3 separate regions of the Homo sapiens genome follow, and regions 1 and 3 are each linked to region 2. The links are contacts of gene promoters, found by promoter capture Hi-C in blood cells and fetal thymus (Javierre and others, 2016). All regions are on one chromosome and are shown on one strand. Each heading gives the region's core, a stretch centred on a gene start or on the middle of the fragment in contact. The rest is flanking DNA. Distances are from core to core; before and after follow the strand shown.

Region 1 (4,394 bases), core at 1,147-3,646, 290 kb before region 2:
GAGTCTTTAGACCTTTTTCTTGGGTCATGTTAGTGCCAGAGAGGATTCCTCGACCCTCCCATCTGTCAGGGTTCGGGGAGCTACGTGGGAGATGCGTGCCAGGAGTCTCTGCTCTCATTGAGTGGCCCTCACTGGGTTCCACTGTCTTCCTTCACCTCCTCGCCCCTCCCACAGCAGGGCCTGCCATTCTAGTCCACCCCTCCTGCCTCAAGTGCTCTGTCTCTCTGTTCTGTGATTCCTTTAATGTGGCCAGTAAATCAGCTTATCGACGGTAGAAGTGCAGGCTACCCAGATTTGGTCTGCCCTAGGGGATTTTTCTGGAGGGATTTTAGCTTATAGATCTGTATTTAACACTGGGGCTAAAAGAGCAGGAGGGTAAATGGAAATATTTAAAATAAATTACTTGATTTCCAGGATTGTGAATTTACCTAGTAATCAAAACTTAGAAGAGCAATGATTTCATACTTAAGGATAGTTCTGAGTGACAGAACTTGATGCGTCAAATGTTACGCTCCAAAAATTAATCATACCCTAAGAAATATGACACACGTCTGTCATAAAATAAATCACTTTTTCTAATCAGATTTTATTACCTTTCAGATCCGATCACATAGGACAGTATGCACCTTAAGATCCTGAAGAAACGGCACAAAATGTTCAAGTGATGTTTAGAAATAACTTGTGAGGTAAGAGTGTGATTATTTAGGGTCCAATCACTGTTTCCTTTCTCACAGCTGACACTAGCTTGTATATTACTAAAAAGGTAACCTGTGCATGTGGCAAAGCAGAGGCGTGGTGCCAAGCTGACAGGCACGCCTTCCTTTTCACCCGCTGCCTTCCGGTCCTAAAAGGAGGGTGTATCTGTGGAGGGGACTCCATGAATTGAATTGATGAGTTCTTGGCCAGTATCACAAGATGAGGGGAATACCCCGCTTTCCACCTGAAATGGAAAGTGGTTTGGTTTTTTTTGTCTGTTTTTTTTGAGATGGAGTCTCAGTCTGTTGCCTAGGCTAGAGTGCAATGGCGTGATCTTGGCTCTCTGCGACCTCTGTCTCCCAGGTTCAAGTGATTCTTCTGCCTCAGCCTCCCTAGTAGCTGGGATTACAGGCACCCGCCATCATGCCCGGCTAATTTTTATATTTTTGGTAGAGACGGGGTTTCACCATGTTGGCCAGGCTGGTCTTGAACTCCTGACCACAAGTGATCCACTCGCCTTGGCCTCCCAAAGTGCTGGGATTACAGGCGTGAGCCACTGTGCCCGGCCTGAAACGGAAAGTTTTTGCTTGTGTGGTTGTCCCTTTAAATATGGAGATTTGTAGTGTTGCTTTTGGTGTTCTGGGAAACAGGGCTTTATTTAACATGCCGAGAAAGAGCTTAGGTTCGGGAGTGTTGAGAAAATCCCATTAAATCGGCCATTAGGGTAGAAGAGTGATGCTGGGGCATCTGTGTGAGAGTGCCCAGTGTTTCACGGTTCCCTCAGAAACTGTCTTGAGTATGAAGTCAACGGTGGTTTTGGAATTCAGTGCAGAATAAGGCTGTGCCCTTGCTCCTAAGGAATGTGTACATTTTAATACCGCATCTCAAATGGCTGTGCTGTTTGCTTTTAGATTAGCTTCCATGTAAAGGAATGGTTTCTTCATTTCTTCCCCTCCCTTCCTGTTGCATTACTCAAGTGTAAATACAGTGACTCAGAGACACGAGTGAGTGCACTGTGTTACTGAGAGCTGTATTTGTCCAGCCTAACTTTGCTATATTCGTTTGTTGCTTTGTTGAAAATAAAGCAGTTTTTGGATTTCATGTTATTTTCCTGTTGACTTCTAATGGATCTTACAGATATGGCACTAAAGCCCTCAAGTATGATATGTCACCCTAATATGTGCTTATAGGAACGTCCTGCCATGGCCAGTGTTTGGTGTCTGTGGGCGCTCTCCTTACACAGCTGTGCCTGCCATCCGCACCCCCAGGTCAGGCATGGAGCCACAGCAGCATCCTGCACTCCGTGGAGGTCTTACCAGGACCTGAACCAGGAAGGCGGAGCTGAGCTGGCTCAGGTGTCACATGTGTGCCTTTAGAAGACTTTCAAGAGGCCCTGCTTTCTGGAGAGAGCTCAGACTGCCCAAACATTGTGCTCTGACAAAAGTATAGCTTGTTTTACTGCCTGGAAAGCACCCTTCCTTTTCTCATGGAACGTGTCCTATTAGAGAAGTCACCATAAAGCAAAATGGTTCTGCTCAGAGGAATTTTTCAGCTTACGGCCTTGATGTACCTGGGCCCACAGATAACGATTCACCAAGAAACTTAGATGGAAATCAGCAGGAGGTGATTGGAATCTGAGAGAGGGACTGCTTGCTTTTTGTTGCATCTGCCTTTTAGCAAACATGCCCTTGCTGTGCGCCAGACAGCATGCAAGGCATGAGGGGGACAGGGCAGGAGGAGACCCAGACCCCCCTGGAGGGGCTGACATCAGGCCGGGAGGTCGGACCTGCAAGAGCTCTCAGGTAGCAAGTGGTAAGTACCTGGGAGGGAGAGCTGGTGAGCGTGCCCAGGGCTTCAGCGGAGGCAGAGAAACTTCCAGGTACTTTCTCAGCCCCCTGACAGTCAGGCTTTACTAGTAGTGCAGGCAGAAGCAGTTTCAGCCTTTATCTCCGGATAGTCACATCTGATGTCTAGAGACCTCTTCGCAAAGTGCTCCTCAGAAGAAGAGAACTCCCTTTTCAGGTTGGCTTGCCTAGAAGAGAGAAAAGTTAGGCCCTGCAGGGTGAATGAGGTTTATGTAGAGGCAATGGTGCTGCAAAGGTGTTTGCAGGGGATGTTGAGCAGACAGATGCAGAAGATGTAGGTTCAGAAAATGCTGAAGGAATGGTTGGCTAAGGGGTCTGTCCAAATTCTTTTGATCTTTAGTTTTTTCTATTTCACTCAAATGATTATTTTTAAAAGTTTTTTTAATTAAAACAATTTTTTTGACATTGGGTCTTACTTACTCTGTTGCCCAGGCTGGACTGCAGTGGTGGGATTGTGGCTCACTGTAGCCTCAACCTGCCAGTCTCATGCGATCCTTCCACGTCAGTCCCCCAAACAGCTGGGACTATAGGTGTGTGCCACCATGCCTGACTATAAAAAAAAAAAACAATTTTGTTTTGTAGAGATTGGGTCTTCCCATGTTGCGCAGGCCAGTCTCAAACTCCTGGGCTCAAGAGATCCTCCCACCTTGGCCTCCTAAAGTGCTGAGATTACAGGTGTAAGCCACCACACTCAGCCTTAAGCATGTATTTATTTATTTTTATTTTTTGAGACAGGATCTCTCTGTCATCCAGGCTGGAGCGCGGTGGCATGATCATGGCTCACTGCAGCCTCCACCTCCCAGGCTCAAGCAATCTTCCCCCCTCAGCCTCCCTAGTAGGGGGGACTATAAGCGCAAGCCACCATGCCTGGTTAATTTTTATTTTCTGTAGAGATGAGGTCTTACTCTGTTGCCCAGGCTGATCTCAAACTTCTGGGCTCAAATGATCCTTCTGCCTCAGTCTCCCAAGTGCTGACTTGAGCCACTGCACCCAGCCTTAAACATTTTTTAAAGCTGCTTTTATCTGATTGAAAAATAGGGCTATTTTACTGACTTTGGAAAACAATTTCATTTTGCTCTTGTACCAGTCAGCATTTTTGCATCGAGAGGAAATTTTTTAAAGTATTTGGCGAATGAATCCTCACCACATGTTCATTCGGCAAATGTTTTCATAATTGCTATGTTCCAGTTGCATTTAAGAAAAGAAAAAGTCACACCCAGATTTGAAAAACAGCACCCAGTGCTGTTACTCAGTTGTAGTGACCTGACCTCTGAGAACATTCTTACTACACTCCTTTATTCACATTTCAGAAGCCATGGTTTCTGCACTCTGCCTGCTTAAAATATGAGGAGCGCTCCTGCTCTGAGAAGGTGCCCGGGTCAGTTCGTTAAAATATTTGTCAGTATTTTCTCCTCATGGCAAAGCTAGGTGAAATTGACTGTCTCTTCCTTTCCCTGGCTCTTTATCTGTGATATTACAACTCTCAGAGCAAACACCGATAAGAGAAGGGCGTACAATCAAAGAAGCAGTCAAAACAGTTACCAGGAAAAGTGCACTTTTTTCTTTTTGTTTCTGGAGAGGGAGTGTCACTCTGTCACTAGGCTGGAGTGCCGTGGTACGATCTCGGCTCACTGCAACCTCCACCCCCCGGGTTCAAGCAGTTCTCCTGCCTCAGCCTCCTGAGTAGCTGGGATTACAGGTACAGGCGCCTGCCACTGTGCCCGACTAATTTTTATATTTTTAGTAGAGACGGGTTTCACCAGCTTGGCCAGGCTGGTCTTGAACTTGTAACCTCGTGATCCACCGGCCTCTGCCTCTGAAAGCGCTGGGGTT
Region 2 (4,485 bases), core at 1,831-4,330:
TAATATTTGGAAATAAGGTTATTAACCTATAAACTTTTTTATTTATTTTGAGATGGAGTTTCGCTCTTTTTTTTTTTTTTTTTTTTGAGACGGGAGTCTTGCTCTGTCGCCCAGGCTGGAGTGCAGTGGCATGATCTCGGCTCACTGCAACCTCCGCCTCCCGGGTTCAAGCGATTCTCCTGCCTCAGCCTCCCAAGTACCTGGGACTACAGGCGAGCTTCACCACACTCGGCTAATTTTTGTATTTTTAGTAGAGACAGGGTCTCACTATATTGGTCAGGCTGATCTCGAACCCCTGACCTCAAGTGATCCACCCACCTGCGCCTCCCAAAGTGCTGGGATTACAGGCACGAGCCACCGCGCTGGCCTGTAAACATTTTTAAACTGTAACTTTTTCCACCTCCCATTATTCTCAGTGACAAATTTAACTTTAACAAGTCAATTTTAAAATAAGACCTTCAATTTGCAGTTGTTATTCCCAACATAAACAAGTAATATACATACCATGACGCTTAATATCTGATAAACAATCAGTATTTGCTGAATGAATGAATGGCCATTAAGGCTGCAAGACTCTTAGGACAGTAGGCAACCAAGTAAAACAAATTTATTAAAACGCTCAGAATGACTGGAGCAGGAACCAGTAACTAAATCCTGTCATACATGATTCCATTACTTGTTTGCATTACTATTCTTTTAAAATGAAAATTATGAGAAATCGGCCAGGCGCAGTAGTGGCTCACGCCTATAATCCCAGCACTTTGAGAGGCCGAGGCGGGTGGATCACCTGAGCTCAGGAGTTTGAGACCAGCCTGATCAACATGGTGAAACCCGTCTTTAATAAAAATACAAAAAATTAGCCAGGCATGGTGGTGGGCGCCTGTAATCCCAGCTACTTGGGAGGCTGAGGCAGGAGAATCGCTTGAACCCGGGAGGCAGAGGTTGCAGTGGGCCGAGATCATGCCACTGCACTCCAGCCTGGGCGACAGAGCAAGACTCCCGTCTCAAAAAAAAAAAAAAAAAAAAAAAAAAAAGAGCGAAACTCCATCTCAAAATAAATAAAAAAGTTTATAGGTTAATAACCACAGCACTCCAGCCTGGGCAACAAGAGCCAAATTCCAACTCAAAAAAAAAAAAAAAAAGAAGAAGAAAATTATGAGAAATCAAACTATTTCCTTTGCTACTTTCTCCATGCTAAAACTTAAAAGCATTTAAATCATACTTTAAAAGAATAAACCCAAAGTGTTGCTAACATTTACGTTCCGCCAACTTTTGCTACTCCAATTTTCTAAAGATGTGTATAACGCTTTAGACTGTTGTATAAAACGTAAATACTGGGACAATGAATGCAAACGAAATTACAATTAAGTTTACATATTATCCATCCCCATTAATTAACATTTCAATCAACCTTGAATTGTGATTGATGCTTATTAAATAAAGGAAGTGAGCTATGCCTAAAGATGCTTTCTTCATGTCAAAATCACAAGGAATATTACACATTAATTCATAATGAGCCTTTTACTTGTTCATACCAATTCTAATAAGCTAGTTAATTAGGATTTAAGTTGAGAAAAAAGCAAATATCAAATCTTTTTTTTTAACAGAAAGGTCTAAACAAAGCTAAATACACCAAATCTCTTAAAATCTTTGGGCTATACATTTGTAAAAATTATTCAACTACTGATCCCTTTTTTGGCGCAAAGACCTACACTACTTACAAAAGTAAATGAATAAGGGAACAAAACGTTAAAGGGGGAAATTCTGATGCAAACTAAACTACAGCTAATTTAACAAAATTGAAGCTTGTCGTAAGATCTAATTTTTTAAAAAGTTTTCGCATTTTAGATTCCACAACACGCATTCATTACAATAGTTCCGAAAATCATGTTTCAAAAGAGGTGTAGTCAGATTGACTTCATCTGCAGAAGGGCAACAAAACCCAATTGCTCATGAAGGGTTATGATTTTACTCGCAATCAGTTTCCCGAATGGCTACTTTGTTTCATTTCCCCATATTTAATACAAATACACAATGAGATGGTTTAAAAGTGTGCAACAATTTATAGGGACCAGATGTCAACAAATTAGCAGTCTAAAGCAAGGCTGACAAATAATACATCATGCCGATTTTTGTCCAGAATAATTATAATGGCGGAGGGGGGAGAAGATGTGAGAGAAGGGGTGGGAGAGGGGAATAAGAGCTTAACTCTACACGCACATCTCCCAAAAAGAGCTCTTTCTTTCCACCACGGGATTATTGTAAAGGGCCCCCAAGCTTTAGCTACTGTTCAGGCAGGGTGCGTTAGTTGTCAGCCTGGCTGGGATGGATTCGTGCAAGGGATGTCACTCAAACGCAAGTGAAAGTACGGTCCTTGCGACTTATTTCGAGTTTTCTTTGCAACAGCAGCCCAAGGCCGCTACTCTGCTACTTCTATCTAAAAAACAGAAAATCGGCAACCCCCGCATCATCAATCAAGCTGAGAAAGGAAGCTCTTGGGGCAAAGGGGCAACAGGGCACCCCCAAATCTCTGAGGCTCGCTCCAGGCAGAGGCAGCAACCTGAGCTGCTCTGGGGCCCCTGCGCTCCAGGGGACTCCCGGAGCCCCCGGGCCGCCTCCCCCGGCCGGCGCGGCGGGGAGGGCCCCACTCCACACCCCGGGCTCGCCCCGCGGTCCAGCCCCAGGGAGGTTAACCCCTTCGGCGCCCTCCACGCCCTCCCCAAGCGGGGCCCGGAGCCCCCGCCCTTCGACCTCCCCGGGACTAGGGGGTCCGGGTGGCTCAGGGGACGAAGGCGCGGCGGGCGCGGAGGCGGCGGGTGGCTCCGGCCTAGGCCCGGGCAGCGTGTCCCAGCGCCCTCCCCCACTCCCACACGCTCGCTCCGGGCAGGGCGCGGACGCCCGCCCGCCGCGGCGTCCGCCCGCCCGGGGCTCGGGCCCCTTCCGGCCGAAGGCGCAGACCGGCGGCTACCTGCGGGCTGTGGAGGGCCATGGCTGCCCGTTTCATTGGGACTCCGCGATCCTCCGGCTGCTCACGCTGCTTCCCCCGCCGCCGCCATCTTCTCGCCCGCACATACACACTCGCATCGGCCGCCGCGCCTGCGCACTGGCCGCGCGCCGCGGGGCGCGGGGAGGCCGGCCCGCTGCTGCGCCTGCGCGGCCGACAGGTGGGCGTGCGCCTGCCGGGCCGCGGACATCCCCTGCCCCGCCTGGAGCCTGCCGGACTCTGAGCCCCGCGACCCTCGGGCGGAAGCGGCCGGGCGGCTGCACACCAGGAGCCCGCCGAGGCCTGGCTGTGGATCCGGAAGGGGAGAGGGCAGGCAGGTAGAGGTGGCAACGCCAAGGCGCCGGCGGGCCCGGCTCCTCACCTACTGGGGGCCACCTGGGCCCCCGGAGCCCGGGAGTCGCGGGCTGAGGTCGGCCTGGGGCCCACGAGCCGCCCTCAGCGTACCTGGGCCCGGGCCTCGGGAGTGTTCGCATTAGATCCCCGAGGAGGGTCTGGTTTATGAAGATCCCGTTGCCGCGCATTCATTCATTTGTTCACTCTTCATTCACTCCCCAAGTCCTGCCTGGGCGCCTGGGCCACGCCTTTGGCTAGGCATTAGGGGAAAAAAGCAAAACAGACAAAAACAAAACGTAGGGCATAAAAGCACGCGTAAAGTGCTTGACATGAGGCCTGGCAAGTAGCAAACACTCAGCAAGTGCTACGTGTTGCACACGTGCGTGCGTGTGCACGGGCAAACCAGCCTTGGGGGTCGTTGGTTCATTCATTATTAAGAAACAGGGGCCCCTGCCTAACTGCACTGTTTTCCAGCCAGTGGGTCCACCCTTGGGTTTTGGCCCCTTTTCTAGCTGTGATTTCAGACAAGCGACTTTCCTTCCCTAAGCCTTGGTTTCCTCACCTGTGAATAAGACAAATATGTCATAACGCGTAAGATTTCTGTGAGGTTCAAATTAGATTAACGTGAGCACACTGGCCAAGAGAATAGTCAATAAAAATTGGCTACTGGGATTGTTATTAATAACCATTACTATTGGTTTCATTTATTCAACAAACACCTACAGAGAGTCTGCTCTTGCTAGACCGTACACTGAGCAGAGGAGATGAACAGGAAGATCCATTCCCACGTTACATAAAATAGGGAGCCTGGTCTCTTCATAAATGGGATGCCATGAAAAATATAAGTGGGCCAGGCGCAGCGGCTCACACCCGGAATCCCACACATTGGGAGGCCGAGGCGGGCGGATCACTTGAAGTCAGGAGTTGGAGACCAGCCTGGCTAATATGATGAAACCCCAACTCTACTAAAAATACAAAAATTGGTGGGATGTAGTGTGGCACACCAGGCGTCCCAGCTACTCAGGAGGCTGAGGTGGGAGGATCACTTGAACCCCGGAGACGGAGGTTGCGGTGAGCCGAGATCGTGCCACTGCACTCCAGCCTGGGTGACAGAGCGAGTCTCTGTCTCAAAAAAAAAAAAAGAAAGA
Region 3 (4,580 bases), core at 165-2,664, 280 kb before region 2:
GTGGTGTGATCTCAGCTCACTGCAACCTCCGCCTCCCAAGTTCAAGTGATTCTCTTGCTTCAGCCTCCCAAGTAGCTGAGATTACAGGCATGTACCACCACGCCTGGCTAATTTTGTATTTTTCGTAGAGATGGGGTTTCTCCATATTGGTTGGGCTGGTCTTGAACTCCCGACCTCAGGCGATCCGCCCACCTCGGCCTCCCAAAGTGCTAGGATTACAGTCGTGAGCCACCGTGCCCGGCCGTTTATTTTTTTATAGACGGGGTTTTGCTGTGTTGCCCAGGCTGGTCTTAAACTCCTGAGCTCAAGCCATCTGCCCGTCTTGGCCTCCCAAAGTGCTGGGATTACAGGCGTGAGCCACCATGCCCAGCTATATTTTTCTATAAAATTATTCTACTTGGTCTAATATGATCTTGGGTAGGAAAATGTCAACTGCTGCCATTTAATCCTTCCCTCATTTTTTTCTCTGACAAGATGGAGGTATACACATGATGTGTCATCAGCCTTTGCTCTTAGAAAGACTTGTTTAAGTTACTAACTGGCTGGGTGGATCACTAGAGGTCAGCAGTTACAGACCAGCCTGGCCAACATGGTGAAACCCCATCTCTACTAAAAATGCAAAACAGTTAGCCGGGCATGGTGCTTGTAGTCTCAGCTACTTGAGAGGCTGAGGCAGGAGAATCGCTTGAGTCTGGCAGGCGGAGGTTGCAGTGAGCTGAGACTACGCCGCTGCATTCCAGCCTGGACAACAGAGGGAGACTCTGTTTCTAAAAAAAATAAAAAATAAAAGTGACTAACCAATCTCCCCCTCATTCTAGATGTATATAGCTCTGTCTTCAGTCCATGCTCTGATCCTTTGTGGATTTCAGTTCATCTCCTGTGTCCGAGGGCAGTGGACTGGTAAGTTCCCTGGCTATGTGTCATTCCTGGCTTTGCATGCTGTTATTGGATGAAAGGGGAAAGCTTTAAAGGAAGAACCAGTTTTCCAATTTTGAAGGAAATCATTGCAATTATTTTAGCAATTGAATTTTAAAGAATTTAGTTAAGTTTTAACACCACCATTTTACTAGTATATTGTTGCCCCAAAAGCTTGTGTCTGTCTGCTGGTCAGCTAGCTCGCCATTGTTCAAAGCAGGCTTCACGTTGCTTACGTGAGTGACCGACCCTAAGCAAGTGTAGTGAAAATAGGTGCTCGTTATCCTACCTTAGATATGCAGTGAGGTCTGGACAGGCTCATCCCACCCCAGGGGAACATGGTGAACAGACTCCTGTGAGCACTGCTCACTGGTATGGGTGCACACAACTCTTCTGGTCTGGCTTCATTTGCCATTTAATTCATAAATACAGTGTCAATAGAAACCTCAGAAAATACAGACTCTTTTGAAACCACTGGCCAGGAAGTCATGGTATGAATTTTTGCTTGGAAGGGTGGCCCTCCTCTGCTCCTTGGAGAACAATGAATGTGCCCATTTAGAAAGTGAACAACTTCCCCCTGGAAGCTGGCCAGGGGCTGGCCCTAGAGGATTCTTCTCTGAGCCAAACATTCTGCCACTCGGGGTATTCAGGACCAGTTATAACCAACTTCCTCTTGTCCGCAGAATGCAGTGATTTTTCACCTCCGATAACTGTAATCCTGTTGATCTTCCTGTGCCTTGAGGGTCTTCTGTTTTTCACTTTCACTGCAGTTATGTTTGGCACCCAAATCCACTCCATATGCAACGACGAGACGGTAAGCTTTGTTCTCGGCTGTGTGGACTTCATATGTGGTCCAAGCTTGAGTAAATGAAAAGTCCTAATGTCAACAATAGGTGCCTGTGGACTGACTCGGGAACGTAATGGGACGGTCTTGATGAGCTGCAACCAGCTCCCTGTGTTTGCTGTTTCTTTCATTCTGGGCAGTGCATATTTCTAGTCTCAGTTTGATTTGCAAGTCAGCAGAGCCAGGCAGATTCCCAGCTCCCAGTGCAGTCAGTAAATTTCAGGGAACTGACTGCCTTTAGGGCCTGGCTCTGCAGGCCTGGAGTGGCGCTCAGTAAATGTCTGTACACAGTAACTAACGAGCGACAAATGTTGGTGCCTGGCTGGGAGGGCCATTGTGGTAGTCTGGGCTGGCCACGTGGCTGCAGCCGGGCTGGGCTCACAGAGGCCACGGGGTCTGGATCGGGGCAGAGCTGGGAAGGAGAGTTCACTCACCTACCCTCCATCGAGCCCACACTGTGCTTGAGCACGGTGTGATTCTGAGGCTTGGTGGGGTCTGCCGAGCTTCCTGGAGCCGCTGCCACTTGCTTTTCTTTCTGCTTCCAGGAGATCGAGCGATTGAAAAGTGAGAAGCCCACATGGGAGCGGAGGCTGCGATGGGAAGGGATGAAGTCCGTCTTTGGGGGGCCCCCCTCACTCCTCTGGATGAATCCCTTTGTGGGCTTCCGATTTAGGCGACTGCCCACGAGACCCAGAAAAGGTGGCCCGGAGTTCTCAGTGTGAGGCGTGGCTCATCAGACTGAAACTTGCTCACAGACTTCCAGTTATTTATTTGGGGTCTGAAGGATATCAACAGCTCATCTGTGACCAACAGGGCAACTGGAACCTACACAAACCAATTGCTTGCAGCAAGCAGAGTTTTATATATTTATAGTCACAGATGGCAGAGGAAGAGGCTCTCAGTCCCCACCTGTACAACAACGGAAAGGTGTGTGGCCACACGAAGAAGCCAAACGCCGTGGCCTCCTGCAGAGCTGGGGCTTCTGTGGAGAATACTTCGGGTTATTACATGGGTTATTCAAATCCTGGGTCCTGAGCTGCTGTTTCCAATCATGAAGAAAAACAGTGAATCCAGTGAACAGGGATTCTCCAAGCAGTCATTTCAGGGGGCTCCTGCTGACCCCGCCACTCAGCAGTGCACTCCCCGGATCACAGCAGGGCGTTTACATAGAAAGACGTTTTGGTCTCGATTAGCTCCGATGCTTTGCACTGAAGTTGCAAAAGATCTGTGCACTGAACAGTGAAGGTGGCTTCCGGCACACTCCCCGCTGCCCCGGAAGAGACATCCTTTGACCCTCTCAGCAAGTCTGTGTGTGTGCGTGTCTGTGCGTGTGCGCGCGTGTGTGCATGTGTGTCAAAATTGCCAGTGTTGTTTAGGCAATGTAACATTTACCGGCTGTGTACAGCAAACAAGCTATTTTTTAGAAACCGACGTTTCAGGGAAGAGGGGAGAGAGCCGCGGGGTCCTGCCCGTGGTTACTATGAATGTATTGCTGTTGGAGGACATCTCGATCCAAAGAACAGCCGTTCCTGTGCGGCCCTTCGTTGCCCTCCTGCTTTCATTTTTTAAAGAAATCTTGAGTGCTTGAGGGCCTTGGAACTGATTTTTTTTTTTTGTTCCAGCCAAATTAGCAGTGTATAAATGGCACCTAGGTAAGAGCAGAGCTGCGGCTCGGTGACTTGATACTTGGGGCAGCCCGATGCTGTGTGTGGGGCAGGGGAGGCATCCTTACTGGAGAGGCAGGGCCCAGCCATTGGGCACCTCTGGGAAGGGGAGGGGACCATGAGGCAGCCAGCCCCTGGCAGGGGCGACTGTGCCACCGCAGGCAGCGCTCCAGTCGGGAATGGCCAGGATGGCGCCCTCTTGTTGGAGTTTTTGGTTAGCTTTTACGTTTTCTTCTCCACCCACGGCACAGGTGATAAAATAGGATCCTTGGTGCGGAGCTTAAAATTATGCCAGAAAGCCAACAGCTCCCCTCGTGGGGCCTTGCCTTAAACTTGCCTGGTTTGTACATTTTTTGCCGGACGCATCAAGAAGCAATCTGTGACAAAGTCTGAGGGTCTTCCTTTATGCTTGCCCTCCACACTAAGAGAAGTTGGCGTCTCCCTCCTGGGAATTGTTTTGCCTTTCTGTTCATCTGTGAACTGTTTTTTGTTTTTAATTACTCTGTACCCCATCCGAATCAGGGCTTCTACCACTGCTGATGCAAAACCACAAAGGGACCTACCTGAGCCACCGTCCTAGCCAAGCGAGCAAACCTGCAGGGGGTTTGGAAGTGGACTTGGTCACCGCAGAAGCGTGTGCGCCGTTGGGGGAAGAGCTGCGTCACAGCCAGAGGGACAAAGTGTGGGTGATCCTGGAGACGCCAGTTTCCGAGATTGTTCTGCATATTCATTTGCACATTGTTGTCTGGGTTGGACATGCGTGTGGGCTTCAGTGTGAGGCTTTTAATATGTATATCCTGTTATCAATAAAACAATTATCCAAGTGGTTGAATCCTGTGAGACTTGGCAAGTGTGTGCAAATCAAGTATACTTGACTTTTCAACCTCTTCTTTCAATGTAACTTTTATATGAAATAAAGTAATCAATTAACAGTTCTCAAATGGCTTCCAAAGCGCCCGTTCTTCCTGGATGGTGGTGTTTTCAGGGGGTGCCTTTCCGTGCTTCGTGGGCCCAGCCCCAGGCTGTTAAGGTCACTCCCAAACAGTTTCCAGAAACTCTAAATGCTTTTGTGCCCATGACAAGTGACCTGGGCACTCAAGCGCGACTCACAAATGTTGCCCAGTGAGTACTGTTGCTTGTTGAATGTTTAATTCGAC

The links. Contacts are between HindIII fragments. The CHiCAGO score rates a contact against its expected background, and 5 or more counts as called.
Region 1: a fragment that was not itself captured here is called in contact with the fragment with the promoter of USP10 in region 2 in 1 of 17 cell types (neutrophils); the score reaches 5.8 in neutrophils.
Region 3: a fragment that was not itself captured here is called in contact with the fragment with the promoter of USP10 in region 2 in 10 of 17 cell types (monocytes, neutrophils, non-activated CD4 T cells and 7 more); the score reaches 9.0 in monocytes.

Annotation. Positions count from the first base shown.
Region 1 is chr16:84,992,214-84,996,607 of GRCh38, reverse strand. ZDHHC7 (zDHHC palmitoyltransferase 7) reads left to right here. Exons shown (of 8, transcript NM_017740.3): 2 at 601-686. Among named protein-coding and RNA genes, the nearest start is that of ZDHHC7, 17 kb to the left of the region's middle. RefSeq lists an enhancer at 1,487-1,987. The HindIII fragment of the contact is 8,914 bases long and covers 1-4,394 here.
Region 2 is chr16:84,698,595-84,703,079 of GRCh38, reverse strand. It overlaps USP10 (ubiquitin specific peptidase 10), which reads right to left and starts at 3,080. Exons shown (of 14, transcript NM_005153.3): 1 at 2,969-3,080. The coding sequence starts at 2,989. RefSeq lists silencers at 2,509-2,618, 2,659-2,768, 2,779-2,998, 3,089-3,608. The HindIII fragment of the contact is 5,859 bases long and covers 2,280-4,485 here.
Region 3 is chr16:84,974,244-84,978,823 of GRCh38, reverse strand. ZDHHC7 (zDHHC palmitoyltransferase 7) reads left to right here. Exons shown (of 8, transcript NM_017740.3): 6 at 819-900; 7 at 1,599-1,729; 8 at 2,305-4,580. The coding sequence ends at 2,481. Among named protein-coding and RNA genes, the nearest start is that of ZDHHC7, 35 kb to the left of the region's middle. RefSeq lists an enhancer at 1,294-2,493. The HindIII fragment of the contact is 645 bases long and covers 1,092-1,736 here.